Linked DNA regions of Homo sapiens: all the other regions are linked to region 2. The links are contacts of gene promoters, found by promoter capture Hi-C in blood cells and fetal thymus (Javierre and others, 2016). All regions are on one chromosome and are shown on one strand. Each heading gives the region's core, a stretch centred on a gene start or on the middle of the fragment in contact. The rest is flanking DNA. Distances are from core to core; before and after follow the strand shown.

Region 1 (3,256 bases), core at 495-2,994, 1.1 Mb after region 2:
GTCTCATTCTTAAATTAGTTGTAAAGCATTATTCTGATGTTTCCATACAAAGAAGTAAATGTTGTAAATTTGAATAATTTCCTTTATATGATGATTTTCTGGTTCACATTATGCTTTTTCTTCTCCAAACCGTATTACAGGTGAGACATACAAATTACCCACCAGCTCTGGCTATAAATGACGCCTGGTTATTTATATAAAAAAAAAAAACCATAAAACAAAACACACAAAAGATAAGGCCGCACCAATACTGTAGATATTAAAACAAATAGAATATATACATTTAGAGAAAACTCAATTTGAGAGTATTGCTCAGAAAAAAAAAACATATAATATTAACAGAATAGAGAAAAATATGGAATGATGTCAGATCAACAAATTTATTAAATTATATTTAATGCAAACGATTGGTATACCACGGCTACTGAAAAATTAAAATAAATGCACTGTGGTTAGTAAAAAAGGTACCAATATTAATATTGTGCCCAGGTTGAGATGGAAAATGATTATACTATTTTGTATGTAACCAGACATTATATCGAGTAATGTCTAGCTCCTCTGTTATTAAAAAATATAATTTAAAAATTATTTCTGATACATAAGAAAATCACTGTCCGGAAAAAAAAAATCACTCATATTTCCCAGAGTTGAAAACAGTAAAATGTTGCTTTATAGGCCTCCCAATATATTTTTGCTATGTACATATACATTTTTAGTGTGTAAATGAAACTACAGTAATCACTAAATAGACCATCATGAAATTCTATCTCAACAAGTGTATGTCTATAATGTCATTTTATGGTTACAAAGTATTTTATGGTGACATTTACAATGTTATTTTATGGTCATCCTACATAAATAGTGTACACAATTCTCTATTGTTAGTATTTGTTTTTTTCTAATTTTTCTACTGTATTCTCATTTTTTATACTGTAAGAAAGATAAATATATTCTTTTAAATGCACCTTTGTAAATATTTTAAATTATTTCCTTAAGATAATGAAAATAAAATTGCTGAGTTGAAGGGTACAAAAAGACTTTTGAGGCTTATTCTTAAATTGTTGTAAGAAAGGCTTTTACTAATTCTTTTCTTTAAATTTTGCTTGAAGTTTTGGGATACATGTGCAGAATGTGCAGGTTTGTTACATAGGTATACACGTGCCATAGTGGTTTGCTGTACCCATCAACCCGTCATCTACGTTAGGTATTTCTCCTAACGCTATCTCTCCCCCAGCCCCCTACCCCACAACAGGCCCCATTGTGTGATGTTCCCCTCCCTGTCTCCATGTGTTCTCATTGTTCAACTCCCACTTATGAGTGAGAACATGCGGTGTTTGGTTTTCCGTTCTTGTGTTAGTTGGCTGAGAATGATGGTTTCTAGCTTCGTCCATGTCCTTGCAAAGGATATGAACTTATCCTTTCTTTGGCTGCATAGTATTCCAGGGTGTATATGTGCCACATTTTCTTAATCCAGTCTACCATTCGTGGGCATTTGGGTTGGTTCCCAGTCTTTGCTAATGTGAATAGTGCCACAATAAACATACGTGTGCATGTGTCTTTATAGGAGAATGATTTATAATCCTTTGGGTATATACCCAGTAATGGGATTGCAGTGTTAAACAGTATTTCTGGTTTTAGATCCTTCAGGAATCGCCACACTGTCTTCCACAATGGCTGAACTAATTTACACTCCCACCAACAGTGTAAAAGCGCTCCTTTTTCTCCACATCCTCTCCAGCATGTTGTTTCCTGACTTTTTAACGATTGCCATTCTAACTGGCGTGAGATGGTATCTCATTGTGGTTTTGATTTACATTTCTGTAATGACCAGTGATTATGAACTTCTTTTCATATGTCTGTTAGCCACATAAATGTCTTCTTTTGAGAAGTGTCTGTTCATATCCTTTGCCCACATTTTAATGGGGTTGTTTTTTCTTGTAAATTAGTTTAAGTTTCTTGTAGATTCTGGATATTAGCCCTTTGTCAGATGGACAGATTGCAAAAATTTTCTCCCATTCTGTAGGTTGGCCTGTTCACTCTGATGATAGTTTCTCTTGCTGTGCAGAAGCTCTTTAACTTTGTCAATTTTGGCTTTTGTCAATTTTGGCTTTTGTTGCCATTGCTTTTATTGTTTTAGTCATAAAGTCTTTGCCCATGCCTATGTCCTGAATGGTATTGCCTAGGTTTTCTTCTAGGGTTTTTATGGTTTTAGGGCTTATGTTTAAGTCTTTAATCTATCTTGAATTAATTTTTGTATAAGGTGTAAGGAAGGGGTCTACTTTCAGTTTACTGCATATGGCTAGCCAGTCTTCCCAACACCACTTATTAAATAGGGAATCCTTTCCCCATTGCTTGTTTTTGTCAGGTTTGTCAAAGATCAGATGATTGTAGATGTGTGGCGTTATTTCTGAGGCCTCTGTTCCGTTCCACTGGTCCATATATCTGCTTTGGTAGCAGTACAATGCTTTTTTGGTTACTGTAGCCTTGTAGTACAGGTTGAAGTCAGGTAGCATGATGCCTCTAGCTTTGTTCTTTTTGCTTAGGATTGTCTTGGCTATATGGGCTCTTTTTTGACTTTTCAATATTGTATTTTAAACTAACAGTTACGTGACAGTGGTTTTCACTTGTCCAAAAAAGTTATCTGTTACAATGGGATGCAGGTATGTGCTGTGTTTCTGCAGAGAGAAAATGTAGACTCAACTATTTCAGCTAAAAGTTGGCACATTTTATCTTAGAATTTAAGAATTTTCTAAAAACACAGTCAAAAGATAGAATATGCCTCAGTGCATAGTAGTAGAGTCCTTGTCATAGGAAGTGTTCAGTTGTTAGCAAATGCTCATTTGTTAAGAATGTCACTTTTGCCAGAGTATGACTGGTTGACCTAGATTCGCTCTAAGTTTGTTTGATTTTATATTGCTTTAGCTTCAGCTTTATCATATTTGACTTATTTAACTTTCTGCAGGGCATGTATTTACGACTTTCTCATAATATTCCATGTGTATATGAGTGTGCTATTTTCAACTGCTAGAACTTTGTATTTTATTCAATGATTTCTAACTTCTCTGTTTTTTAATATGGGCAAGGTGTAAATCATAATAATGCTAAACTCCATGACTTGTCCAAGTGCCACTGCATTCCATTTCTTGCCCTATTATTCCAAAGATAGTATAGAGAGAAATAACCATAGGAGCAGGCCTGAAGAGGCATTTGTTCAAATGTATCCTCCATAGGATGTCCAGGCAAGAAAAACATCAAA
Region 2 (4,312 bases), core at 852-3,351:
TTTTTGATACAGGTTACATAGCTAATCTACTAAACCAGCAACTGAATTTTTTTCATTGGAGGTAACTAACATTCAAAGTGCTGAAGATTTTCCTAAACTGAGCATATGCAAACATTAGTGGTGCTTTAAGAATCTTGTATTTTAATTAGTTTTTGGTGAAAAAGGCAAAGTGGTTATTTCTTTAACACCACTTTTAGAAATAAATCAGTAACAGGAAAAAAAAATACCCTTCTAAAACAACATGATGTAGTGCAAAGTACAATGGGATAGGACTAGGTGTGAGGAGTCCTGGTTTTCTAGTTCTGGTTACATTATTAAATTGCTGTATGACTTGGGCTCACTGGATCAGTTTTCTCATTTGTTGAAAAAAGTGTGTGTGAATGGGGAGGGGCTTAAAGTTGTTACCCAAAATTCTCGTTTTGAGCCACTCCTCTTGTTTCATCCTTCTAATCAGGAAACTCAATGTTCTCTAAGGTCTAAATTCCGAAATATGAAACACATCTGAAATTGAATGGAACGATTCAATCTCCAACCGGATGGCACAAGATACAAAGGGTGGACTCCTATGAAGTTAACAATGAATCCAATAACTTTCCAGAAATTGTCTAATCCTAACTTCTTAAAGAAGCAGGTGAAATCTGGTTTGGCATACCTAATATTACTTAAAGGAGTTATAAAATGGTATTGCTTTGTTGAAATTTCCGTGTTTTCTGGGTTCCAGTGGCACATACTCTGCAGGTGCTAGCAAAGTGGAGAGAAAGGGATCCAGCCAGTATTTCAACAAACCACACTTCAACCCAGTCACCGCAGTATGATCCCGACAAGGCCTACACCACAGAGCAGAACCTCCCCACCCCCAGAATTGCCAGCAGCCAATGTAATGAATGCTTCCGTCAACAACACACATTCCCCTTCCCACAGCAGAACTGCTCGCTCCCAACCGGCCATCTGGGGTTGGAATTGGCCGCACAGCACCAAACTAAGAATCATTCTCGGCCCCAAAAGCCAAGAGCTACCAGAGATTGAGGTTTCCCTGCGCATGGCTGCGGGGAGAGCAGCACCCCCTCCCACCAATGGGGGGAAAAAAAAAATCAGTGGGAAGGAGAGTAGAAACCAGGCCTAGGCAAGGTTGCTAGAGAAATAAATCTTGTTTCTCTTTAACGAAGAGCAATAACATTTCTTGCACCCTCTCTAATCCGAAGAGAGCCCAGGCTCTTGCACTCGACTTCATTCCCTCCTGGAATCCTAATGGGAGATTAAAAACCACCTTCCTTCCCCGACCTATCCACTCCTCAAACCTGGCATTGTTAAGGAACGTACCCCCAGATCAAGCAGTAAGAGGTGAAGCGAGAGCTAGAACAAGGGCCCAGATTCTAGGACCAAGCGGCTCTTGCAAGAAAATCCCCTTGTGGCCTGAGAATAAAGTTTTAACCAGCAGCAAGGGCGCGGGCCGAGGCCCGGCCAGGCTGGAGGACAGGCCTGCGGAGGTGACACTCCCTTATTCTCCAGCAGCTCGGGAAGGCGGCGCCCGACCGCCACGGCCCGCACCCTGGGAGCAGGGCGAGGGCGCCGACGAGGGGCCGGGGCCGGGGCCGGGGCTGGCGGGAGGCCTGGCCCGCGCCGCTCCCGCCTCCTTCCCCACTCCCACTTCCCGGCCCCCAAGCCCGGGCCCGTGAGGTAATGTCACGGGTGGCGACGCGGGTCTCGTCCACTGACCACACATTTCTTGCCGAGGAAAGTGAAGAGGGACTCGTTCTCCTGCGGGGTGAGCAACAGGGACCCCACGTTGGTGACCCTCCGCGGCGGCGGCGGCTGCTGCTGGACGGAGCTCATGGTTTCGCCGGCGGGGTTGGGAGTCCAGGGCCGTCTCCTCCGGCGAGTGGGCGAGAGCTCGTTCCCCCTCTCGGTGACAGGGGCGGGGAGAAGTGGAGTCAGAGGCGCCACATCTCGCAGCTCCTCCGGAGCGGGGAGGAGGACGAGGTCGAGGGAAGCAGGCGCTGACGGCGAGCCACCTTCGCGCCGCGCTGAGAAAGGGAAGCTCCCGGCACCCGCCCGGCCAGGCTAGGGCCGGATGGTCGTTGTCCTCGCACTCCGGCGACTGCGCTAAACTCCCAACTCCTCCCCCAACCCTCCCGCAGCGGCGGCGGCGGCCGCACAATCCAACATGGCAGCGGGGGCGGGCGAGACCACAGGACGGAGGGCGCGGGGGAGCGCGCCGGAAACGCGCGGCTGCGGCCCGGGAGAAACCCCCCCACTCGGCGGCGGGCCTCGCGGCGCGGGCCCGAAGCCACGCCCCCTTCCGGCCGAGGCGCGGACCGCGCGGAGCTAAGTGGAATCCCGGTTGGCTTGGGGCGCAGGCTTCCAACTTCGTACTCTGGCCTCTGGCGTCTCGGCTCGTCGGTTGGGTACCCGAACCCAGCTACTGCTGCTTGAAGAGAAGATGGATGGGGACTCCTCGCCGTCGCTGCGCCGCCGGCCTTCCCTGGGCGGACGTACACCTTTGCGAAGCGTCAGTGAGGACCCAGGGCCCCTCCTTGGAATAGCTCTTATTTCTCAAGCGCTGCAGCGTGAAGCTCGCTCTGCGGGTCCGAGAGGCCTGCGATCTGAAGACTGAAAACTGGGAAGAGACGCTCTACCCTGTGCTCCTCGCCGGCTTCGATAGGAGCCGCAGGTGCCTGGGATTTTCTCAAACTTTGTCCCAAACTTCAGCTGTGGGAGTGGAGGAACAAACAGGCCTCTCCCAGAATTGTGAAAGAGATCGCCCTGGTGGATGAAACAAAAACAAATGCACTTGACTTCCACCGCCTGCCTGGCGTGTCACGCGGGTTTAATGTATGTGTCACATTTAAATTCAAAGTATTTTCTTCTAAGGGCCTGGACACATTTCTTTTCTCCCTGTATCGTGAATTGGAAAATACCTTAGGATATTAAAAGTTATCTAAGATAACCCCCTTTCTTCTGTAAGTTAAATACTAAACGGCTTAAGACGAAATTTTGGAATATAGAGATGATGATGCAGACTGCAGTGAATTATCAAATATGCATCTCACTGTTCTCCACATTAAACATATTTTTGTTGCGTAAATTCATGTTAAGACGTCTATAACAATTACACTTTGGTAAAATTGTTGGATGTTAACATCTCTGATAGCTCCCAATAGAAATCTCTGATGTACTAACCAGACTGGTAAACCATTATCATGCACTTTGAAAATATAATAAAATATTATAATTAAAGCTGCCATTAATGAAATAGGCTGAGCAACAATAAATTTACAAAGGAAAATAAAAGTGGATAGCCTTGGGAGTTCTCACATAAAATATGGAGATTTCAAAGTTAAACTTGATTAATTATGTTAGGGTAAAAAGTGAATTAAAGCAACAGGACTATTTATAAAATAATTAGATTTAGAAAGCAGTCGTAGAAATATAAGCCTGGAGTTGCCTCTGAATTACATATTTAACAAACCTAGAAGCTAAATCAGTTTGTCTTTTATCAAAACTGCAACTCCTCTAAGTTGAAAGCACAGTGACAAGAGAAAGCATTACAAATTCTTGAGAAATAATAGAAATTAAAGCTCTTTTCAAACCTGTGAACAAGTATAGTACCAGAAGTATAAGATTCAGATAGGCCCAAGTTGTAGTTCTTGTTATGAGTCTTACAACCCTATGGACTTTGGACAAATTACTTCTCTGCGTCTGTTTCCTCATCTGTAAAATGAAAATAATTTCTGTTTCATACAGGTATAGTCTAAATAGGGATAATTACACCTACTTCAAAGTTGTAAAATACACAATTACAACTAGATAGGAGGTATAAGTTCTAGTGTTCTGTAGCACTGTAGGATGACTATAGTTAACAATATTGTATAGTTTCAAATAGCTAGAAGAAGGATATTGCATGTTCCCAAAACAAAGACATAAGTTTTTGAGATGATAGATATGCTAATTACCCTAATCACTATATGTTATATGTATTGCAACATCACTATGTACCCCCATAAATATGTACAGTTATTGTGTATTAAAATTTTTTTAAACTAAAATTATAAGACATTAAAAAAAGGTATCACATGTAAAGTACCTGATACATAGTGGTTACTCAAGTATTAGTTGTCGGCCATTGACAGTCCTTGCCTATGGTCTTTTCTGCTTTCCCTGAGCTAAGGGATCAAGACTTAATATATGTATTCTTACCTTTGTTCTAATTCTGACTCTTCAAAAACTGTCCTTCAAATATACAATTGTACATATTTTTTCAAAAATATAGTGAAGAACTTGATAGCAGAATTTCTGATTAGGCCATATATTA
Region 3 (3,862 bases), core at 1,359-3,858, 1.2 Mb after region 2:
CTTAGTGGGCAAGAAAAGGGCATTGAAAATATAAAATAACTGATAATCCAAAATGAAAAACACTTATTTGACTTTAACAAGCATTAAATAATTTTCCTATATTGACCTTACAAATCTTGTTAGGTTACCATATTTTAAAACATTTTTCAAGAGTAAGGGTACAGGCAGAAACCAAGGACCTGACGGCGTTGATAGTGCAGTGATTGACAGAAAATGTTTCTCTATAAAAATGTATTTCATGAGCATTTGCATGTACTGGGTTGAGTAATACCAAGGTCATAATTGGAAGTAATGTATGTGAATAATATTAGCATTAAAAACCAAAATTCTTAAATTGCCTACAAATCACTGTATGATTTGACCCCTACCCACCTCATCAGCCACATCAGCCACATATTGTGTGACTCACTCTGGTATTCTGTCTTCTCAAAATTCATTAAATATTCCAAGATGCTTGCTCAAGGCCTCTGTATATGCTATTCTCTCTTTGCAATCTATAACCCAAGTATCCCTGTGATCATTTTTCCATTACTCTTCTCATTCTACTATTCAATATTCATAGTTACATATCATATCTGGATAAAATAATTATGTAATAATTGTTTAATTCTTCTCCAGGGGACACTATGCTCTATGAGGGCAAGGTCCATGACTGTCTTATTCACTGCTATATCTCCAACATCTATCATAGAATACAAAAACATTTAACAAATGTTTGGACAACTAAATAAATAATCAAAGATATTAACATTCATACATATATAGATAGTATACCTTCACGAATCTTAAAATAAAATAAACTGTACAACTGCTACAAAACTTACTTCATAGACTGTTAGCATTTTAGAACTTAAAAGGACCTTAGAGACCATGTAATCAAACATCTTCATTTTTCAGATAAGGGAGAATAAATAAATGATCTAAGGTCACATACAGTTAATTAGCTATGAACCAAGACAAGAAGCCAAATCTCCTGACTTTCAAGACAGGCACCACTCTAATTCCTCTTTCAGAACTAACTCTAACAGGGATACAGGGAGAAAAAAGGTATTAATAAGTGTCTTTATTTTTGACAGTTTTGGGGTAATTTTTTTTAACTTTCAGAATACTTTGGAAAAGTCTTTCCTCATATTTTATGTCCACATATTAAATGTTAAAACTGACTTTAAAATATGAAAACTAAAACAAAAAATGTCTCATACAGAGGAAGGCTTAATTACAGCTTGTGTATTTCTGCAAAATATATCACATTAGTCTACCAAAGCAAGGATTAAAATCTTGTTAAAATTCATTTTAGTGTTTTAGGATTATTGTATTCAAATACAACGCTACCCTTAAGCAAACAAGCAAATGGCAAAGAAGGGTTTAAGAATCAAATTGGAGAAAACTCATTCCTTTAAGCAAAAAGTTTTACCTTTGGGTTGGAACAATCTTCAACCTTGATACTTTAATAAATTGGTATATTAGACCCTCAAATAATCAGCATTTCTGGGTTTTAAATCCAGAAATAATTTAAAGTAAATGTGACCTCAGTCTTCACATCATTATATTTTAAAAGCAAGAAACCTTGACTTACCATTATTAACAACCTCTGTTATCTGACAGGTACTAATTAACTAGTGTAGTTCTATTCTATTTTAATGAATACCTATTTAAAATGTATTTCAATAGCAGAAAACACTTCACATGTCAGGTAAAACACTAATACCTAATGTAATGTACATGTTTTGTAGATGTACTATACATGTTTTGTTAATTCATAGCATAACCCTTTTATACTGTTTCTCAAATAAACATTTAATATAAAAATCTTAAAGGATAAAGGTGAAATATATTTAAAATATAAACAAATTGATCTCTGATATTCGATAGCATGTATTTATTTTTAAAACACATCTCTAAAATATCCAAGATATATTAGGTAAAAATAAAGCAACCTTGCAAAAAACAGATAGTTACTTGGTGAAAAATATGCACATACAGGCTTATCCATGCCCACAGACACACACAAAAGCATGTGCACATATATAGACACACATATAAAAAACCTGGAAGGGTACTAAAAAAAGCATAGCAGTGTTTTTTACCTGAAGAATGGGACTAGGAAATGGCAAGGGATTCAGTGGGAATGAGGGAACTTTTGCTTTTCAGTTTATAGCCTGCCATACTGTCTGAATGTTTTTAAATCATGACTACACAAAAACAACAAAATCTTCTCAGACAAATATTTGCAAGATTGTCAAGTCCATAATACTACCATGAGGTAAGAAAAAAAAGGTGTGGAGATAGAGCGGTTTCTCTACTTATTCTAAGTCCTTTAACAAATGTTAGCCTTAGAGGGTTATCTTCATAATAAAAGTGCTTATCACCATCATCACAGAGGGCTAACAGTTAATACTTAAATGAAAAACATATACGAAGACACTTTGCAATCTGTAAGATTTCATACAAATATAATATTATTAGTTAAATTTTAATTCTGAAAAAAACTGGTTAAATGTTAAAAATTGGCTATAATAAACGTTTGAAAAAGAAACAGTGGTTTTTACTATCTAATGGCTCTTTAAATATAGACCTTATTTGCTATTGAACTATGTAAAATAAACAAAGGATAGGAAAAGAAACAGAAAAATAAGTTATTTAATCTCCTTACCTCACAAGAAATTAGAATTTGCATCTCTTTACATCATACCTCAAAACATCTAAAATGTTAACTAGAAAAACCCTTTAAGTTATGAATTCCCAACAAACATAAACACACATAGGTGTGTAATACAGACAGGTATACAATCAGACACACCCTAAGAGTCATGAGAAAAAGCATAACACATTGATACACTCAAATACATTTTTAAATGTATTCATACAAATATAATGTACACACACCTCTCTCAGAGCAACTCTACCTACATTTACCCCAACACTATTTTCTGTATTATGTTAAAACAAATGTTTCAAAAATTCTTTAGTGAATGAGATTTTGTATTCATATTTGCACCTGACATTTATTTAACATTCATAAATGCAAAATTTTTATAAGCTACCAACACTGAATTCTTAATAATTTAGAAATGTCATCTCAAATATTAATAATTTTAACTAAGCTGAAATAAAGTCTTGCCTTCAAGAGGAAGAATAATACAAATAACAGTAATGACAGCAGACCTTTACTGGGGCCACCAACTAACAAAAGCACCTTATCAAAATAGATATTTACAAAGGGATTCATTTGGAGCAATTAATTCCTATCTGACATCGCCTCAAGCAGGCATGATTGTGTGTATGTGCACTCACGCTTTTTTCTGTTTTATTTCCTAGTGTCCTTCCCTGATGACTGTCAAGAGACTTCTTTGTAGTATATTTGTCTCTAGAATTTTTGTGCCACATCGACTAGATTAGAACTATATTTCAATCAATATTTTAAAAATTTTATCAGCAATCAATCTCAGAGAAATGGTCCGATGATTTGTTCTATGAGCTTTAGGACATGAACTGTATGGCAAATGCATTACTTCCCTAAATTCTAAAGCAAGGTTTTAAGATATACCGCTGATTAGTAACAGCATTGCAGATGGAAAACTAACACGACACTGATTTTCCTTTTCTTTGTTCAAAGTAGAAGTGAGAAAAAAATTAACTGATTTAACAGTTCTTCACAGCAACTTGAGCAAAAAAGATAAAATCTGAGTTTGACAATGTATCACAAAATTCTTGTAACAAGGAAATAAAAGCAGATGTTCTAACAGCTTGCTTGAAATGGATCTTTATTCCAGACCCCACAGGTTTTACAAAAATGGTACCATTTCTCAAGGGCATTGAATTATTTAAACCACCACAATTTCTGCAACTACTGTATGTCATA
Region 4 (4,045 bases), core at 413-2,912, 1.1 Mb after region 2:
TTAAACAGTATAACTAATTAACAGGGAAAGTAAGAATAAATTAGGACATACAGACATGAACTAGGGCATACAACAGACATTAATACAGGGGAACTGAATTTTAGGCTTCAAAAGGTCTCAATAGGTTAAAACTGTGAACTAAAACTAAGAAAGATGAACTTAGCACCTACTCCCAGGAACCATAAAAACAAAGATATTACATTAAGAATAGAACGAAGAGACCAAGTTCAAGAAGTTCATGTGACAGAAAAAAAAATTACATTAAGAATAGAATGAGAAGACCAAGTTCAAGAAGTTCATGTGACAGGACCCTAGGATTTCACTGGACCACAAATAAAACATGAGATGGCTGTATCAAAAAGGAAAGAAAACAAAACCAAGTGTACAAATAAATAGCTATACAATGACATTTCAGGCTAGTAGAAGCTGAGTGTCCAGTTTCAGGTAAATAATAATTTCACTCTATTCTGAATTGGCCAAACAACATCTGCAGCACAATGTCCAGCTCTGAATGCCAAATTCTGAGAAAAGCACTGGTAAAGTGGAATGCTTACTGAGGAGGAAAAACAAAATAGTAAGGCATAGGGGAAAGTATGTGACGGTGCCTGCTTGAAGAAATACAGACTAAAGGAAGGCTTGGCAGATATCTTTAAATTTACAAAGTCTGTTTATCTTACAGAGGAAGGAATAAGTATACAAAGAAGGAACAGGTATACTTTCAGGTATACTGAAATATAAGTAGGTGAAATAACCTTGTAAACAAACAGTTAAAATTGCAGGGCATGGAAATTTAGCTAACCTTCTGCCACAGAAGAAGGAATCCACGATGTTTTATCAACCAGGGAATTTAGATTTTGTATGGATCTCAAACTAGAACACTGTTTACATCTGAAATTTATAAAAGAAAGAACCATAAATATTTAAAAATAATTTAGCTTGTTTGTTATAACTTTTTACTGCTCAAACATGTGTAGTTTTAAAATATAAATTATTAAACAGAAGAATACTGCATCCCCTATATTGTAATGTGCTTGTTTGTTTCACAAGAGAATTATGAAAGAGTAAGCTTATTACATAAGGGCAATAAAAAAGACAGTATAAGATTCAGAATAAACAACTCTAAATTGAGAACAGGGTGCTCGGTTCCAGGTCCAAATCATTAATTAATTTTGCTCTCAATTTCCTTATTTGTTAAAATGAAAAGTTGAAGAAAATGATCATCTCTAAGAATTCTCTGATTCTATGATCTATATCTATATCTATATCTATATCTATATATATATATTTTTTAAGACAAGGTCTCACTCTGTCACCCAGGCACTGTCACCTCTGCCTCCTGGGCTCAAGTGAGCCTCCCACCTCAGCCTTCCAAGTAGCTAGAACCACAGTTGCACACCACCATGCCTGGGTGATTTTTGTAATTTTATAGAGACAGGGTCTTGCCACAATGCCCAGGCTGGTCTCAACTCCTGAGCTCAAGCCATCTGCCTGCCTTGGCCTCCCAAAGTACTGGGATTACAGGTGTGAGCCACCATACCTGGCCTCTGTAAGTAATATCTTAATAAATTCAAAGTGTTAATAAATATGGCCAATAGAGAAAAATTACTAAACAGTCACAACATGCAAGATTCTAGATAATTAATATTTTTAGTAAGCACATATCCAGAGGTTTGTAGTTTATGATGCCTAATTCCATAGTTAACTTTTGAAATGTATATAAATCTAAGACTACACAATACACTAAAGTTGTGCATTGTGTAGTACAGTTATTTTGCTTTACTTGAATACCAACATATTTTAACTATGAGTAATTTATTTTTTATTATGCATCATCATAATGTTTATGAGATGTTGATAAGAAAATATACTTGAAAAGATATACTTGAATAAAAATAAAAGTTCGAAAGGTCCATGCAATTTGTTTTCATTTGCACTTTGAGGAAAACAAGAGGGTAACCACATTACATCTTATACCCTTCTATTTATTAAATATATAGGTGTTTCTTTTCTAATAAAAGATGTCAATTTAACAAAAGAATATTATTGCCTAAGAAAAAGACTACGATATTGATTAGCATTAGACATTATTAAAGTTAGTATAAAAATTAAAAATTAAGGATATTAAGTCAAAATTAAATACAGAACTACTTACTTCCAAAGCAGTGAAAGGGGAAACAGAAAAAATTAGAAACATAAACTAAATATATCAATAACTTAAGAACATATTTAAACTCCACTATTAAAACTAAAATTTAGCCATAAGCTTTTATTTATGAGTGACATACAAATTAGAATGCCAGAAACTTGAAAGCAAAGGGATGAGAGTAACCTATAAAGCAATTACCAAACAAAAATTTTAAAAAAACCTATAAAACACAAGAAACCATAAAGTTAAAAAGGCATGGAATACACTAGAAGTATGGATGAAACTGACAAAGATTAGTATCTCTAACACGGAAAGAAACCTTACAATCAATTACATGTATGTGCGCTCACACATGAACCAACAAAGAAATCAGTAACCACATAGAAAAACAGGCAAAAGATGTGAACATGGAATTCATAGAGTAGGAAACCTATGTAGCTGATAAACACGGGGGCTGCTTAAACACACTAGACATCTAGGAAATACAAATAAAAACATTATGGATACCATCTGATGCTCGCTGGCCTGACAAAATTACAAAATTAATGCCAAGTATCAGACAGAAATAGACTAATACCAAGTGTTGGAGTGAACTTGGTAGAAACTAAAATTTTATACATTACTGATGGGACCATATATTGTTAAAACCATGGGAAGAACAATTTGGTATTTCTTCCCATAAAGCAAAACTTATATACACCTTATAATCCAGTAATTCTAATTTCAGGTAAACACCTTAGGAGTAACTTTCAAACATTTTTGTTAAGGACTCACAGTAAGAAATTCATTTAATATCATATCTTAGTAATACATACATACACATACAATTGAAATGAAAGTTTAGGAAACAACACTGACCCTTACTGTGTAAAATGTTCTCTATTATCCATTCCCTCTCATTCCATTTTTTACTACAACCACATCATATAATTTAAAAAAAAACTGTTTATGACCCACTGAACTCATTTTATGACAAGGGAAATAGACAAGAAAACATATAACGTGACTTCATTATGGTCTGTAAATGAAACAAAAAATAACACATATCCATTAATAGGAAAATAGGCTAATAAATTCTGATATTTCATAACATACTCCAAAGATGTTAAATAATCTAAATCTACATGCGTCAATAGTGGTAAATCTTGAAAATTTTAATGAATCAAAAAAAGCAAGCTGCAAAAGGCTTGGCATAGTACGAAACAGTTTATATAAATTTAAAAAATGAAAAATATGCCATACTGCTTAAGAGTTCACACATATAATGAAGGCATAAAAACATTGATGAGAAGGATTTAATCCAAGTTTGGAAAAGTAGCTACCTCTGAGAAAAAAGAGTTAGAGAAGGGATTGATATGGCATTATACTACTTCTCTGTAACATTTAATTTCTTAAAAATAAAAAAAAAAAAAAAAAAAAAAAGTTTGGAGGCCAAGGTAGGCAGATTGCTTGAACTCCAGAGTTCAAGAACAGCCTGGGCAACATGGCAAAACCCCATCCCTACAAAAATTAGCCAGGTGTGGTGGTGTGCACCTGTAGTCCCAGCTAGTTGGGAGGCTGAGATAGTAGGATTGCTTGAGCCCAGGATGTCAAGGCTACAATGAGCTGAAATCATGCCACTTCAGCCTGGGTATCAGAATGACACTGTCTCCAAAAAAAAAAAAAAAAAAAAAAGTCTGAAATAATGTCAAAACGTTACGATTTGTTAAATCTAAATGGTGGATACGTAATTGTTGTGATGTTACTTTTTTAATTTTTCTATAAGTTAAAATTATTTCATAACCCAAAAATAAAAAGAAGAATCAATTAAAAGATATACTGGCTTTTGATGATGAAACTCAAGTAATAAAAAATGTAAAAATGTCTTAAAATCTGGAGTGTGAACAGCATTTGCCTTAG
Region 5 (4,242 bases), core at 355-2,854, 1.1 Mb after region 2:
GTTTAATTAGCATTTTTCCCTTCTGAATGATACATAAAATGATAAAGCCTTTTACAGATAATGGTGTTTTAGAATAGATGAAATACAATAAACAATGTTAAATTTAGTAAAATTAAATTAAACACAGGTGAAGTGTGTGTTTCTGTTCACTTTATTACCTCACAATAAACTGAAATTCATGGCTTTTGATGTTTTCGTTTACATGTTTGTTAAAACCTTACATTATCATATAGCAATTAATAGGTTATACATTTTTACTTTACTTTTAAAACTATCCAAATATATATACACCTCTGTATCAGTTCATATATATGTATATATGTATATAAAATCATGGCCAGGGCCAGTGCCAGGAAACCTTTCCCCTGTTTTATTCCAGAACATTCAGTTTCAGGTCATACTCTTAAGTCTTTAATCCACATTGAATTGATTTTTTTGTGTAGGATCTAAGGATCCAATTTCTTTGCATGTGGATATACAGTTTTCCCAGCCCCATTTGGTGAAGAGACTATACTTTCCCCATTATATATTCTTGCACCCTTGTCGAAAATCAGTTGACCATAATAAACGTGTGGGCTTATTTCTAGGCGCTCTATTCAATTCCATTAATCAGTATGTCTGGCTTCATGGCAGTACCATACTGTCGCAATACTGTTACTTTTTAACGTATTTTGAAATTAGAAAGAGAGAAGCCTCCAGGTTTGATCTTTCTCAGGATTCTTTTGGCTATTCAGGGTCCTTTGTGTTTCCATATGAATTTGAAGATTGATTTTTATTTTTCTATAGAAAATGCTACTTGGATTTTGATAGGGAATACATTGAATCTGAGATGACTGAGTAGTATGACCATGTTAATAAAGGCATAACTCATGTAATTGTACTTTACTTTGTTGTACTTTGTAATACTGCAATTTTATAAATTAAAGGTTGTGGCAACTCTGCATTGAGCAAGTCTACTGTCACCATTTTTGCAACAGTATGTGCGTCTATGTTACATTTTGGTAATCCTCACAATACTTCAGACTTTCCCATTTTCACTGTATCTGTTATGGTGATCTGTGATCAGTGATCTTTGGCATTACTATTATAATTGTTTTGGGGTAGCACAAATCACACCCATATAAGACAGTGTACTTAACCAATAAATATGTGTATTCTAACTCCCCCATCAACCTGTCATTCCCCTCTCCCTCTCCTGAGGCTCCTTATTCTCTGAAACACAACAATATTGAAATTAGATGACTTGATAACCCTATAATGGCCTATAAGTGTTCAAGTGAGAGAGTCACATGTCTCTCACTTTAAATCAAAAGTTACAAATGATGAAGCTTAGGAAGGCATATATCCAAAGCTGAGATACACTGAAAACTAGGACTCTTGTGCCCAGTTAGCCAAGTTGTGAATACAAAGAAAAAGCTCCTGAAGGAAATTAAAGGTGCTACTTTAGTGAACACATGAATGAGAAGAAAGTCAAAGAGCCTTATGGCTGATACACAGAAAATTTTAGTCGTCTGCATAGATGATCAAACCAGTACAACATTCCCTTAAGCCAAAGCCTAAAGTAGAATGAGGCACTAACTCTCTTCAATTCTTTAAAGGCCAAGAGAGGTGGGAAGGCTAGAGAAGACAAATCTGAAGCTATCACATTGGTTCATGGCATTTCAGAAAAGAAGCCATCTTCATAAGATAAAGTACAAGGTGAAACAGCAAGTAGCAAGTGCTGATGAAGAAGATGGAGCAAGTTATCCAGAAGACCTAAGATCATCAACGAAGGTGGCTACACAAACCAACACATTTTCAATGTAAACCAAACAGTCTTCTCTTGGAACAAGGTGCCATCTAGGACCTTCACAACTATGGAGAAGTCAATGCCTGCCTTCAAAGCTTCAAAAAACAGGTTCACTCTCTTGTGAGAGTCTAATGCAGTTGATGACTTTCAGTTGAAGCCAATACTCACTTAGTCTCAAAATCCTAGGGCCTTTCAAAATTAGCAAAACCAACTCTGCCTGTGCTCTTTAATGAAACAACAAAGCCTGGATGACATTGCTCACAGCATGGCTTTCTGAATACTTTAAGCCCAACGTTGAGACGTACTGCTCAGCAAAAAAGATTCTTTTCAAAATATTACTGCTCATTGACAGTGCACCTAGTCACACAAGAGCTCTGATGGAGATGTTCAAGATCAATGTTATTTTCATGCCTGCTAATACAATATCCATTCTGCAGCCCACAAATCAAGTAATAATTTTTACTTTTAAGTGTCATTATTTAAAAAAAATACCTTTTATAAGGCTATACCCACCATAGATAGCAATCCTTCTGATGGACTGCGGCAAAGTAAATTAAAAACCTAGAAAGTATTTATTCTAGATGACATCAAGAACATGCATGATTCATGTGAGGTCAAAATCCAACATCAACAGGGGTTTGGAAAAAGTTAATTCCAACCCTCACAGATGACTTTGAGGGGTTCAAGACTTTGGTGGAATTAAGTCACTGCAGATGTGGTGGAAACAGTAAGAAAACTAGAATTATAAATGGAGCCTGAAATTGTGACTGAATTGGTGCAATCTCATAATAAAACTTCAACAGATGAAGAGTTGCTTCTTATGGATGAGGAAAGATAGTTTCTTAAGAAGTAATCTACTCCTGGTAAAGGTGTTATGAATATTTTTGATATGACAACAAAAGACTTAGAATATTCCATAAACTTAGTTGATAATGCAGCAGCAGGGTTGACAAGGACTAAAATTTTGAAATAAGTTCTACTGTGAATAAAATACTATCAAACAGCATCTCATGTTACAAAGAAATCTTTTGTAAAAGGAAGAGTCAATTGATATGAGAAACTTCAGTATTGTCTTATTTTAATAAACTGTCACAGCTACACCAGTCTTCAGAAAACTCCATCCTGACCAATCAACCTATCATCTCCACCAGCAAAACGATGATAACTCGCTGAAGGCTCAACTTATCCTTAGCATTTTTTAGCAATACTGTATTTATCATCAAGGTGCATACATTTTTTAATGTAAACTAGTACAAACACTATAAAAAACAGCATGGAGTTTCCTTAATTGCTCAAGAGTGTATTGTTTAATATCCACACATCTAAATTTTATAATTTTCCTCCTGCTATTGATTTCTAGTTTGATTTTATTGAAGTCAGAAAAGATCTTGCTATTTTAAATTTATTCACTTGTTTTGTGACCTAACGAGTTATGTATACTGGAGAATGTTCCATGTGCACTTAAGAAAAATGTATACTCTGTTGTAGCTGGGTAGAATATTCTGCATATGTCTGATACGTCTGTTAGGTCCATTTGGTCTACAGTGTTGTTCAAGTTTTCTGTTTCCTTATTGATCTCTGTCTGGATGGTCTCCCCCATTATTGGAAGTGGTGAAATGAAACCTCCTACTATAATTGTGTTGCTGTCTATTTCTCCCTTCACTTCTGAAATGTCTGCTTCATGGATTAAGCGCTCTGATGTTAGCAGCATACATAATTGTTATATTTTCTTGGTGAATTAACCCTTTTATCATTATGTGATATCCAAAAACTGCCTGTTGTGACAGTTTTTGACTTAAAGTCTCTTTTGTCTGATGTAAGTATGGCCACTTCTCCTCTTTTGGTTACCATTGGCAAGAAGTATCTTTCTCCATTCCTTCACTTTCATTTAGCCTATGTGTGTCCTTAAATCTAAGGTGAGTTTTTGTAGACAGCATATAGTTGTATCTCGTTTTTTTTAATGCACTCAGCTACTCTATGATTTTTTATTAGGTAATTTAATTCATTTATAATAATAGTAGTTATTCATTAGGAAGGTCTTACGATTGCCATTTAATTCACTGTTTTCTATCTGTCTTGTGACACTCAATTCCCTATTTTCTTCTCTTGCTATCTTCCTTTGTGTTTCATTATTTTGTAATGACATGCTTTGATTCCCTTCTCATTTTCTTTTGTGTATCTTTTATAGGTATTTTCTTTGTGGTTACCATGGGGTTTACATAAAGTACCTTATATTTATAGCAATCTACTTTAACCTGACAATTTAACTTTAATTGCATACAAAAACTCTACACTTTTACTTCTACCCCCCACCACACTTCATGTTACTGACGTCATAATTTGCATCTTTTTATACTATGTATCCATTAACATATTTCTATAGTTATAGCTTTTATATATTTGCCTTTCAACTTCTATAACAGAATTAAACGTGATTTATGCATCAATGTTAC
Region 6 (4,237 bases), core at 883-3,382, 1.0 Mb after region 2:
TACTTCGTACCACCCAGAGCATAGTGAGGTAGTTGTATTTGATGAAGTAGTGGGAAATGACTGGAGGCAGAAAATTACTCGAACAGCACTCCCAGCACGGCTGTCCATGCCTTTCCAACCTTTCTACTATATCCCACAACCCTGTCAAAACTGTCAGGGCATAGCTAATAAAATAGACAAATTAATGAAGAGAAAATGATAGAGGAAGAAATAAACACATTCTGAATTTTTTTTTTAAACAGAGTCTTGCTGTGTCGCCCAGGCTGGAGTGCAGTGGTGCGATCTCGACTCACTGCAACCTCCGCCTCCCCGGGTTCAAGCGATTCTCCTGCCTCAGCCTCCCAAGTAGCTGAGACTACAGGCACCCGCCACCATGCCCGGCTAATTTTTTTTGTATTTTTAGCAGAGACGGGGTTTCACTATGTTGGCCAGGCTGGTCTTGAGCTCCTGACCTCGTGATCCGCCCGCCTCGGCCTCCCAAAGCGCTGGCATTACAGGCGTGAGCCATCACACCCGGCCTGAATTTTTTTAAAGCAACACATCTAGAGAGGCAGGAGAAAACACAATGGAACATATGATACCAATTGTGGTAAATAGAATAATGCCCCCCCAAAAAAATGTCCGAATCCTAATTCCTAATACCTGTGAGTATGTTACCTTACAGAGCAAAAGGGATTTTGCCAATGCAATTCAGCTAAGACTCTTGAGATGGGGAGAGTATCGTGATTATCCAGGTGGGTACACTATAATCACAAGAGCCCTTACAAATGAGAGGCAGGAGGGTCAGAGTAAAAACAAACACAAGCCAAGTGATGTGGGCAATCTCTGGAAGCTAGAATGGGCATAAAAAAGGATCTACTAGCCCATTTGAGACTTCTGACCTCCATAACTGTAAGATAATGAATGTGTGTTGTTTTAAGCCACAAAATTTATGGTTATTTGTTGCAGTAGCAATAGTAAACTAATACACCATTAAATCTAAAAATGGAGACAACAGGAATAATTGTATAGAAAAACATAAACTACCAAAAATAGTTCAAGAAGAAAATTTTCAGAAACTGTAATCGAACTATAACATTAAAGAAATCAAATCATTCATCAAGATCTACCCAGAGGAAAGTGCTAGACCTTAGCATATCCTGCGGAATAAATATACATTTATACAAAATGTTTTAAAGCTACTCAGTTCATTTTGTGAAGGCAGAATAACCTTAATGTCAAAATCAGACAAAGCCAGAAATAGGAAAAAATATAAGCTAATAGCACACATTCATTTGTACATTAATTCATTCATTTATATACACTAACTCATTCTCTCAAATTCACTACTTCATTAAAGAAATATTCTGCTCAAGTTACTTAGGTCAGAGCAGTGAATAAAATAAAGTTCTGCTCTCACTGAATTTATATTTTCTTGTATACTCATAAAAAGGACAAACTAGGCTTATGTGTATCACCAAGACTGAATCTCAGAAACATAAATGTAAGGGAAAAACGTAGAACTTGATGTGTTAACTATATAATGCTACCATTTGTGTAGCTCTTAAAATGCACATAAAACAATTTGATAATCATACATGGTGTATCATATAAAATATGTGAATGGAATAAATACAGATCAACTTCAGAATATTAGTCACCTCAGGAAATAGAAGAATGGTCATGGGATGGAAGGAAGCTTCTACTCTAACTGTAGTATCTTGTTTCTTTAAAAAAAATTTAGAAGAGGGAAATCTGGATTAATAATGAAACAGGAAAAATAAGTTGCCAAAATGAAACAGTGATATAGCTTCCCTTCTCATCTCATTAGCTTAGAGTTTAAGTTACACATGTAAGATATGTTTCTATCCTTTTTACTCTAGACCACATAAATGTGTCACTAATCTCTATCACTACACAGAAAGGAATCAAAGCTAAACAGGGAAAAATCCCTTTACCTGCTCCCTTAGAAGCTCCATTGTAATTCACACATGCTTGGCCCAGAGTTGGGCATCATTCTTAAAGTGGTGGGCTATAGAACTCAGGTACCATGCTTGGAGAGTGGCTGGGGAAAGGCCTGAAGGAGGAGCTACCTGTGTTTGTCTGTGGTGGTATCTCATTCATGAGTGGTCCCTTCCTTAACCTGAACAATGATGCCTACCTACTTGGATGGTTGCCAAGTTCTGGTTCTCTAACTTATTCGGACCATGAATAAAACCAAAGAGCTCCAGCTACTCTATTGGAGCCCAGGTCAATATCAATTATTTATAAAATTGTGTTTCCAAAAATATCAATTATTTATATTTTTGGAAACACAATTTTCTCATCTGTATAATAAGGATACTAATACCTACTCTCAGCTCTGCTCACCCAAGTTGTTATGTGGATTAGGTAGATATGAAAAGACTACATAAAGTATAAAATATTTATTACTGTTGCTCTTGGTAGTTCAACTTTGTTTTTAGTGAAATTTAAATGCTGTCAAAAACACATAATCCTTGAAAAAGAATATGCTTGGTAAATAAAAGTGTAAAGTAATAGGTTTATAAGAAAATTTAGAATGCATTCCCTGCAAAAAGAAAAACACACATCTTCAAATATTTTTCCAAAGCTTAGCTCAGCTGTAACTATAAATTTTAAATGGAAATAGTCACATCTCATTCATTTGTGTAGATTCTACTTTAGAAATATAGATCAGAAAAGGAATTAGCTAATCATTGTCTGGTTTACATCTGAGGCCATTTATCTGTACAAAGAAAACTGATTTGAACATGGATTTTTTTTCCTGTGTCAGCATTTCACAAGGTTTATAATACATACTATTGATTTTTTTAATAAAAAAAGAACATGTAAATTATTACCTGCCTTGGCATTTTTATAAAATCTATTACACTTCATTTGGTGTTTGGTGTGCTGAAATAACACACATCACAGAATGAGAGAAATTACTATTTCAAGTTTTAAGATACATCGTTGAACAGAAGCTTTACCCAGCACACAATTCACTTATCAAATAATTTTCTTTCTTTTTTGCCTCAGATAATTCAAAAGGGTCATTTTTTCTGAAAGAAACTGTAACATACCACCAATAGATTATTATTTTCTGAAATTCAAAATTTGTCTGTTTTCCAAATAGTTTGTGGTTGCAGCCTTTCTGTCACTGAATTATTAATTGTTAGTTTGGAAGCCTCCATTGATCACCTTCATTAATCACCTCTCTCTTTTGCCATATATAAGAGCCAAATTATCATTAACGGGTGGGAAATGGCACTGCTTGGAATATAATATCAATATGGTTATGTCTACCTTAAAAATCAAATATCAAAATTAAAGTACTTAAAATTTAAAATAAAACAACAATAATCAAAATAGTCTTTTATTTATTCCAGACAAAAATGTAGACATTGGGCTACATAAAATATGTTTGAACCATACTTGGACCAGCACACTAATTGCATAGCCAAGTCCTTTGGGTTTTGTTGGATTCGGTTTGTTGTTGTTGTTGTTGTTGTTTGTAAAGAAACTTGAATGCAAAAGGGTGAAACTGAAGATGAATTAACACAAGCATAACCAAACATTCTCAACCTTTCATAATTCTTTATAGAAATAAATGCTTGTGAAATGCACCCCTACCTTTTGATCAACATCCTTTTTGAAGCAAAGATAATTTGGATACTTAGTTGGCCCTCAGCCAATAGCAATGTAGCAGGAGATCAGACCATCTCAGGCTTCAGCCTCTCATGACTTCTCAAATTGTGTATTTTCCCTAGCAAGCACATTAATTGTAAATCTTCCAAAAATCATAGTAAGCTGAACTTTTTAACAATTATCCAAAATAAATGTGATATAAAGATACATTTTATTGTATCTTTATAATACCAAAATAAATGTGATATAAAGATATACCAAAATAAATGTGATATAAAGATACATTTTACTTCCTTCTCCCAGAATTTGGGTACAAGCTGTATGCTATATCAATAAGATTCCTTCTGAGACTGTTTAAACCAAATCATCTTATTCTATATTGTTGCTCCATCTCTGACCAAGCATTATTATTTAAATTAGTTTTCTGTGTAATGTTGATACTGGATAATACACTAGAATAAATGCAAGTCAAGCCAAATTGCAGAAGTGTCAGCCTGGTTCAAATAACAAAGGCTAGCAAATTGGAATTTTTAGTATTCTGACCAGAATAATTTTTGTATACAGAGTCAGTAAGGAAGAGCATGGATTTCTATATGAAAAGTGAAAAGTT
Region 7 (4,223 bases), core at 960-3,459, 1.2 Mb after region 2:
ACTTCCACCCCTCCATCCCACCCCTGCCCCCCACCACCCCATTACACTTAAACTGCCCTTAGAAAAACCACTGAAGAACTCTTTATTGCTAACCCAAAAGGACATTTTTAGTCTCATATTTTTGAAAACATTCTTTGTGCTACAACATGGTCCTAGTTTTCCTCTTACCTTCTACCAACTGAATCTTTTAAAATTTCTCATAATCTGTTTAGCCTGTAAGTATCCATGTTCTGTAGAATGTGATGAAGATGTCTAATAGAGGTATACGTAAGTCCTTTTATTTTGTTAAAGTGGTTGTTCTCAGTTCCTGTGGGACACAACACTTCCTACACGTTCAAGTAACTTCCAATCTTATTTCTTCTGCATAATCTCCCAATTAGTGGCAGAGGCTCCAGAGCCTGTAATGCTTTCCCTCACATTAGCAATTAATTTCCACAAATGAAGAAAATTGCTCATGAATATACAGTACAATTTAAGATAATAAGAGAGGAAAAAAAGAGATTGAATCAACTGAATAAGGCAATGAAGACATATTAATGCCAAAACAATCCATTACTATTGTTCTATGCCTGTTGAAGCAGCATAAAAAAGCTACTCTAAGGCTAACAATTAATGTAATTGTTATTAGAAGTTATGACTTTTAAAGGTTCAATGAAAAAAGTTTTTATATAAAATCTGCAATGTAAAAATGTTCATTTTAAGAAAAGTTAAAATTAAATTTTCATTAATAAATAATGAAGACTAAAAGCAAAATGGGTAATTTTTAAGTGATGTATAAATATAAGGATTCAGTATAGTTATCATAAATAAATCAAACGTGAAAGAAATTAGTCTGCAAATTTCTGACACATCTTCCCTCTCATAGCATTTTCATATTATCCTTTACTATTTACTTGTTAATGTCTACATGTAAAATTGAATTGCCTAACATGTCCAGCACTTCAAATTCATTTCCTTTGCATTAATTGTGGGGTGATTAACCCATTCCTGTTTGCAGTCCATCTGTCCTGCAAGCTGTTATCATCAGGTTGCATCTCTAGAGCCTGACAATATCATCTTCTTACTCCTGAGATTTTCTAGGAATAATAGCTAGGCTACATTAGTTGGAGTTCATTTCCTTGTGTCTAATATTCTTTCTGCCCAATCCTAATGAACATCTAAATGGATTTGTAAAATCCTATTTCAATAAAGCATCAAATTTTTATATTGTTATGTAGCTGAGCCAGGAGATAAATCAAACATAATTTTTTCTCAAATGTATGTTTAAGTTACAAATTTAAATGGTAAAGCATGTAATCACTCAGTGCATACTAGGAAGCAAAATAAAGATATTTTTAAAACATAATATTAGGTACCACAAATTGAGAAAACATTATTATCCATTGAAGAGGTCTCTCAAAAGCTTTTGTACTTTAATAATAAATCTTTTTAATTTATTATTTAAAATATCCTAGGCCAGGCACAGTGGCTCACACCTGTAATCCCAGCACTTTGGGACGCCGAACCAGGCAGATCACAAGATCAGGAGTTCGAGACCAACCTGGCCAACATAGTGAAAACCTGTCTCTACAGAAAATACAAAAAATTAGCCAGGTGTGGTGGCGGGCACCTGTAATCCCAGCTACTCGGGAGGCTGAGACAGGACAATCACTTGAACCCAGGAGGTGGAGGTTGCAGTGAGCTGAGATCACACCATTGCACTCCAGCCCGGGAAACAGTGCGAGACTCCGTCTCAAAAAAAAAAAAAAAAAATCCTCATCAGTTAAAAAATTGTCTTTCCTTCAGTTGCTACTCATTTTAAGAATTGTTGGGCCAGGTATGGTGGCTCTCGCCTATAATCCCAGCACTTTGGGAGACCGAGGCGGGTGGATTACCTGAGGTCAGGAGTTCAAGACCAGCCTGGCCAACATGGTGAATCCCCATCTCTACTAAAAATACGAAAAAAATTAGCTGGGCCTGGTGGCACACCCCTGTAATCCCAGCTACTCTGGAGGCTGAGGCAGGAAAATTGGTTGAGCCCAGGAGGCAGAGGTTACTGTGAGTCGAGATCGTGCCACTGCACTCCAGCCTGGCCGACAGAGCAAGATTCTGTCTCAAAAAAAAAAAAAAAAAGAATTGTCCAAGGAAAAAAATAACCTATATTCAAATTTTAATTATAAACTATAAGTAGGTCAATATATTATACTGTATTGATCCATATGAATGAATTACAAATACGAACTTTCTCTTGTTGAAAGACTATAAGAAATGTATGACTTCCCAAAAAATATAAATAAATGTTTCCTCATATAACTCATGTATAACATTTTCTCTTTCTTTCTTTCTTTCTTTCTTTTTTTTTTTTTTTGAGACAGGGTCTTACTCTGTTGCCCTGGCTGGCATACAGTAGGAAGATCCTAGCTCTCACTGTATCCTCGGTCTCCCAGACTCAAGCGATCCTCCCACTTCAGCCTCTTGAGTAGCTGGGACTATAGGCAGGCAACACTGTGCTCCGCTAATTATTTTTAGCAGACGTGAAGTCTCACTGTGCTTCCCAGGCTGGTCACAAACTTCGGGTTCAAGTGACCCTCCCACCTTGGCCTCCCAAAATGCTGGGATTACAGACGTGAGCCACCATTTCTGATAACATGTTTTTAATATGTTTAAAAAAAGGCAATATGTAAACTTAATGAATATTCAGGGAACATTTACCAAGTATCTGAAATTGAGCAGGGCCATCTAACAATAAGTTAAACACAACCAGGCATGGCCCTGGCTGATTTGGATCTTGCAGTGGAGACAGAATATCTTTTTAAAATTCAGATAAACCAATGCAAAATTTCGATTATGATGTGAGATACAGAGAATAGTCATGGTGCTAGGAAAGTATATAATGGAAGAAGCTGACCTAGATAGAAAGGTCACATTAGGTCTTCCTGAGAAGTAAGAATTAAGCAGAGATGAAAATACAGCAATATAATCAAGGCAAATTTTAGTTACCTGTAGTACATTTCAGTCCTATAAAAATATATGGCTTCAAGCTTAAAAAACTATGGGCTAATCAAAACATATATTTTTTTCTTAAATACTCTCTAAACCCTGTATTCAGCCTTAATTTTGCTCTTCAGGTGAAACTCATCACTTCTTTTGCTATCCCTAGACTGCCACAGATATAACCCTCATACAGGCAATGATTTTATGTGATCATGCTCAGATATTAGACACAAAAAAATAGAGTGTGACTGGTGAAACTGGCTCACATTAAACAAACTCACATTGATATTTTTAAAAAAACCTGGTAATACAAATGTATTAAATTCCAACCAAATGTTTTAAATTATTAGCTATATATCTGGAATATGGCATTATGTTAATATCAGTACTTATGAGGAACCAAATTATAAACACTTGGTTGTTGGGAAAGCATGGAATTTCAACATAGAAAATTTTTTGGATGATCCTACAACCTAACATAATCAAGTCATGTGAGTTTCATGTCAAGTCTACTGGAGAAATATATGTGGATGTTCACATTTGTGGTCAGGGCACCATCTCCCCTGAATGTTTGCCTCTCAGATGATCTCTTTTCTAGGCATGTAATTAACCTTCTTCAGATGTGTCCTGTTTTCTTTTTTATTTTCTTTCTGTGCCTTGATTTGGATTAGAAATAAATTACAGCTATGGCTCCGGTAATATTTACAAGTGTTTGGCTATGCCATGTTCTTTCCCTTAGTTGTCTAACAATTTGTAAAATTCAAGACTCTGTATAATCACTGTAATCTCTCTAGTGATTCTGAAAAGACAGGGATCTTTTTCTTTAAATTTTCTAATCTATGGCATATAATTTTATTTTTATAGATATATATTCACCTCTTTCTAAGCACAGAGTAAGCCTTCAAGGCTTGTCAGTGAATTAGATGTTCTGCTGCTAAAAGTCAGCCTGAGCACCCTCAAGACTCAGAGTTGGCTGTTTCCTGAGAATAAATAAAAGGCCATGGCTCATCTCAGTGCCATAACACGAATGGGCACTTTCTTCTTCCAGCTCGCTTTCTTCCAGATCAGAGGATTCTTATAAGAATTTATGTGTTTTGTTGGGGAAAAAAATCATTTATCTAAAGTTTAATCATCCCTTCAGTTTTACTTAAACTGTTTTCTCTTTTGATTAATTCAAATAAAATTTAAATTAATACTTTTAATTTAAAATATCATCTATGATTCTTTTATTTTAAATTAATTCTGTCTTT

What was found. Contacts are between HindIII fragments. The CHiCAGO score rates a contact against its expected background, and 5 or more counts as called.
Region 1: a fragment that was not itself captured here is called in contact with the fragment with the promoter of WASL in region 2 in 3 of 17 cell types (naive CD4 T cells, M0 macrophages and total B cells); the score reaches 6.9 in naive CD4 T cells.
Region 3: a fragment that was not itself captured here is called in contact with the fragment with the promoter of WASL in region 2 in 1 of 17 cell types (total CD4 T cells); the score reaches 7.3 in total CD4 T cells.
Region 4: a fragment that was not itself captured here is called in contact with the fragment with the promoter of WASL in region 2 in 2 of 17 cell types (M1 macrophages and M0 macrophages); the score reaches 6.3 in M1 macrophages.
Region 5: a contact is called between a fragment that was not itself captured here and the fragment with the promoter of WASL in region 2, in 1 of 17 cell types (naive CD8 T cells). The highest score is 7.3, in naive CD8 T cells.
Region 6: a contact is called between a fragment that was not itself captured here and the fragment with the promoter of WASL in region 2, in 1 of 17 cell types (erythroblasts). The highest score is 6.0, in erythroblasts.
Region 7: a fragment that was not itself captured here is called in contact with the fragment with the promoter of WASL in region 2 in 7 of 17 cell types (non-activated CD4 T cells, activated CD4 T cells, total B cells and 4 more); the score reaches 13.5 in non-activated CD4 T cells.

Annotation. Positions count from the first base shown.
Region 1 is chr7:124,859,525-124,862,780 of GRCh38, forward strand. The region is part of intron 8 of POT1 (protection of telomeres 1); the gene reads right to left. Among named protein-coding and RNA genes, the nearest start is that of POT1, 69 kb to the right of the region's middle. The HindIII fragment of the contact is 5,300 bases long and covers 1-3,256 here.
Region 2 is chr7:123,746,902-123,751,213 of GRCh38, forward strand. WASL (WASP like actin nucleation promoting factor) reads right to left here and starts at 2,102. Exons shown (of 11, transcript NM_003941.4): 1 at 1,717-2,102. The coding sequence starts at 1,833. It overlaps WASL-DT (WASL divergent transcript), which reads left to right and starts at 2,294. Exons shown (of 1, transcript NR_170281.1): 1 at 2,294-4,080. RefSeq lists enhancers at 1,023-1,072, 1,832-2,486 and silencers at 1,515-1,604, 2,065-2,384. The HindIII fragment of the contact is 6,394 bases long and covers 1-4,312 here.
Region 3 is chr7:124,908,056-124,911,917 of GRCh38, forward strand. All of the region lies in intron 3 of POT1 (protection of telomeres 1), which reads right to left. Among named protein-coding and RNA genes, the nearest start is that of POT1, 20 kb to the right of the region's middle. The HindIII fragment of the contact is 5,639 bases long and covers 1-3,862 here.
Region 4 is chr7:124,828,455-124,832,499 of GRCh38, forward strand. POT1 (protection of telomeres 1) reads right to left here. Exons shown (of 19, transcript NM_015450.3): 16 at 800-888. Among named protein-coding and RNA genes, the nearest start is that of LINC03043, 40 kb to the left of the region's middle. RefSeq lists an enhancer at 3,934-4,045. The HindIII fragment of the contact is 1,197 bases long and covers 1,065-2,261 here.
Region 5 is chr7:124,887,711-124,891,952 of GRCh38, forward strand. All of the region lies in intron 6 of POT1 (protection of telomeres 1), which reads right to left. Among named protein-coding and RNA genes, the nearest start is that of POT1, 40 kb to the right of the region's middle. The HindIII fragment of the contact is 556 bases long and covers 1,327-1,882 here.
Region 6 is chr7:124,766,570-124,770,806 of GRCh38, forward strand. No RefSeq gene overlaps it. Among named protein-coding and RNA genes, the nearest start is that of GPR37, 2.9 kb to the left of the region's middle. The HindIII fragment of the contact is 912 bases long and covers 1,677-2,588 here.
Region 7 is chr7:124,931,604-124,935,826 of GRCh38, forward strand. All of the region lies in intron 1 of POT1-AS1 (POT1 antisense RNA 1), which reads left to right. Among named protein-coding and RNA genes, the nearest start is that of POT1-AS1, 3.8 kb to the left of the region's middle. The HindIII fragment of the contact is 1,618 bases long and covers 1,401-3,018 here.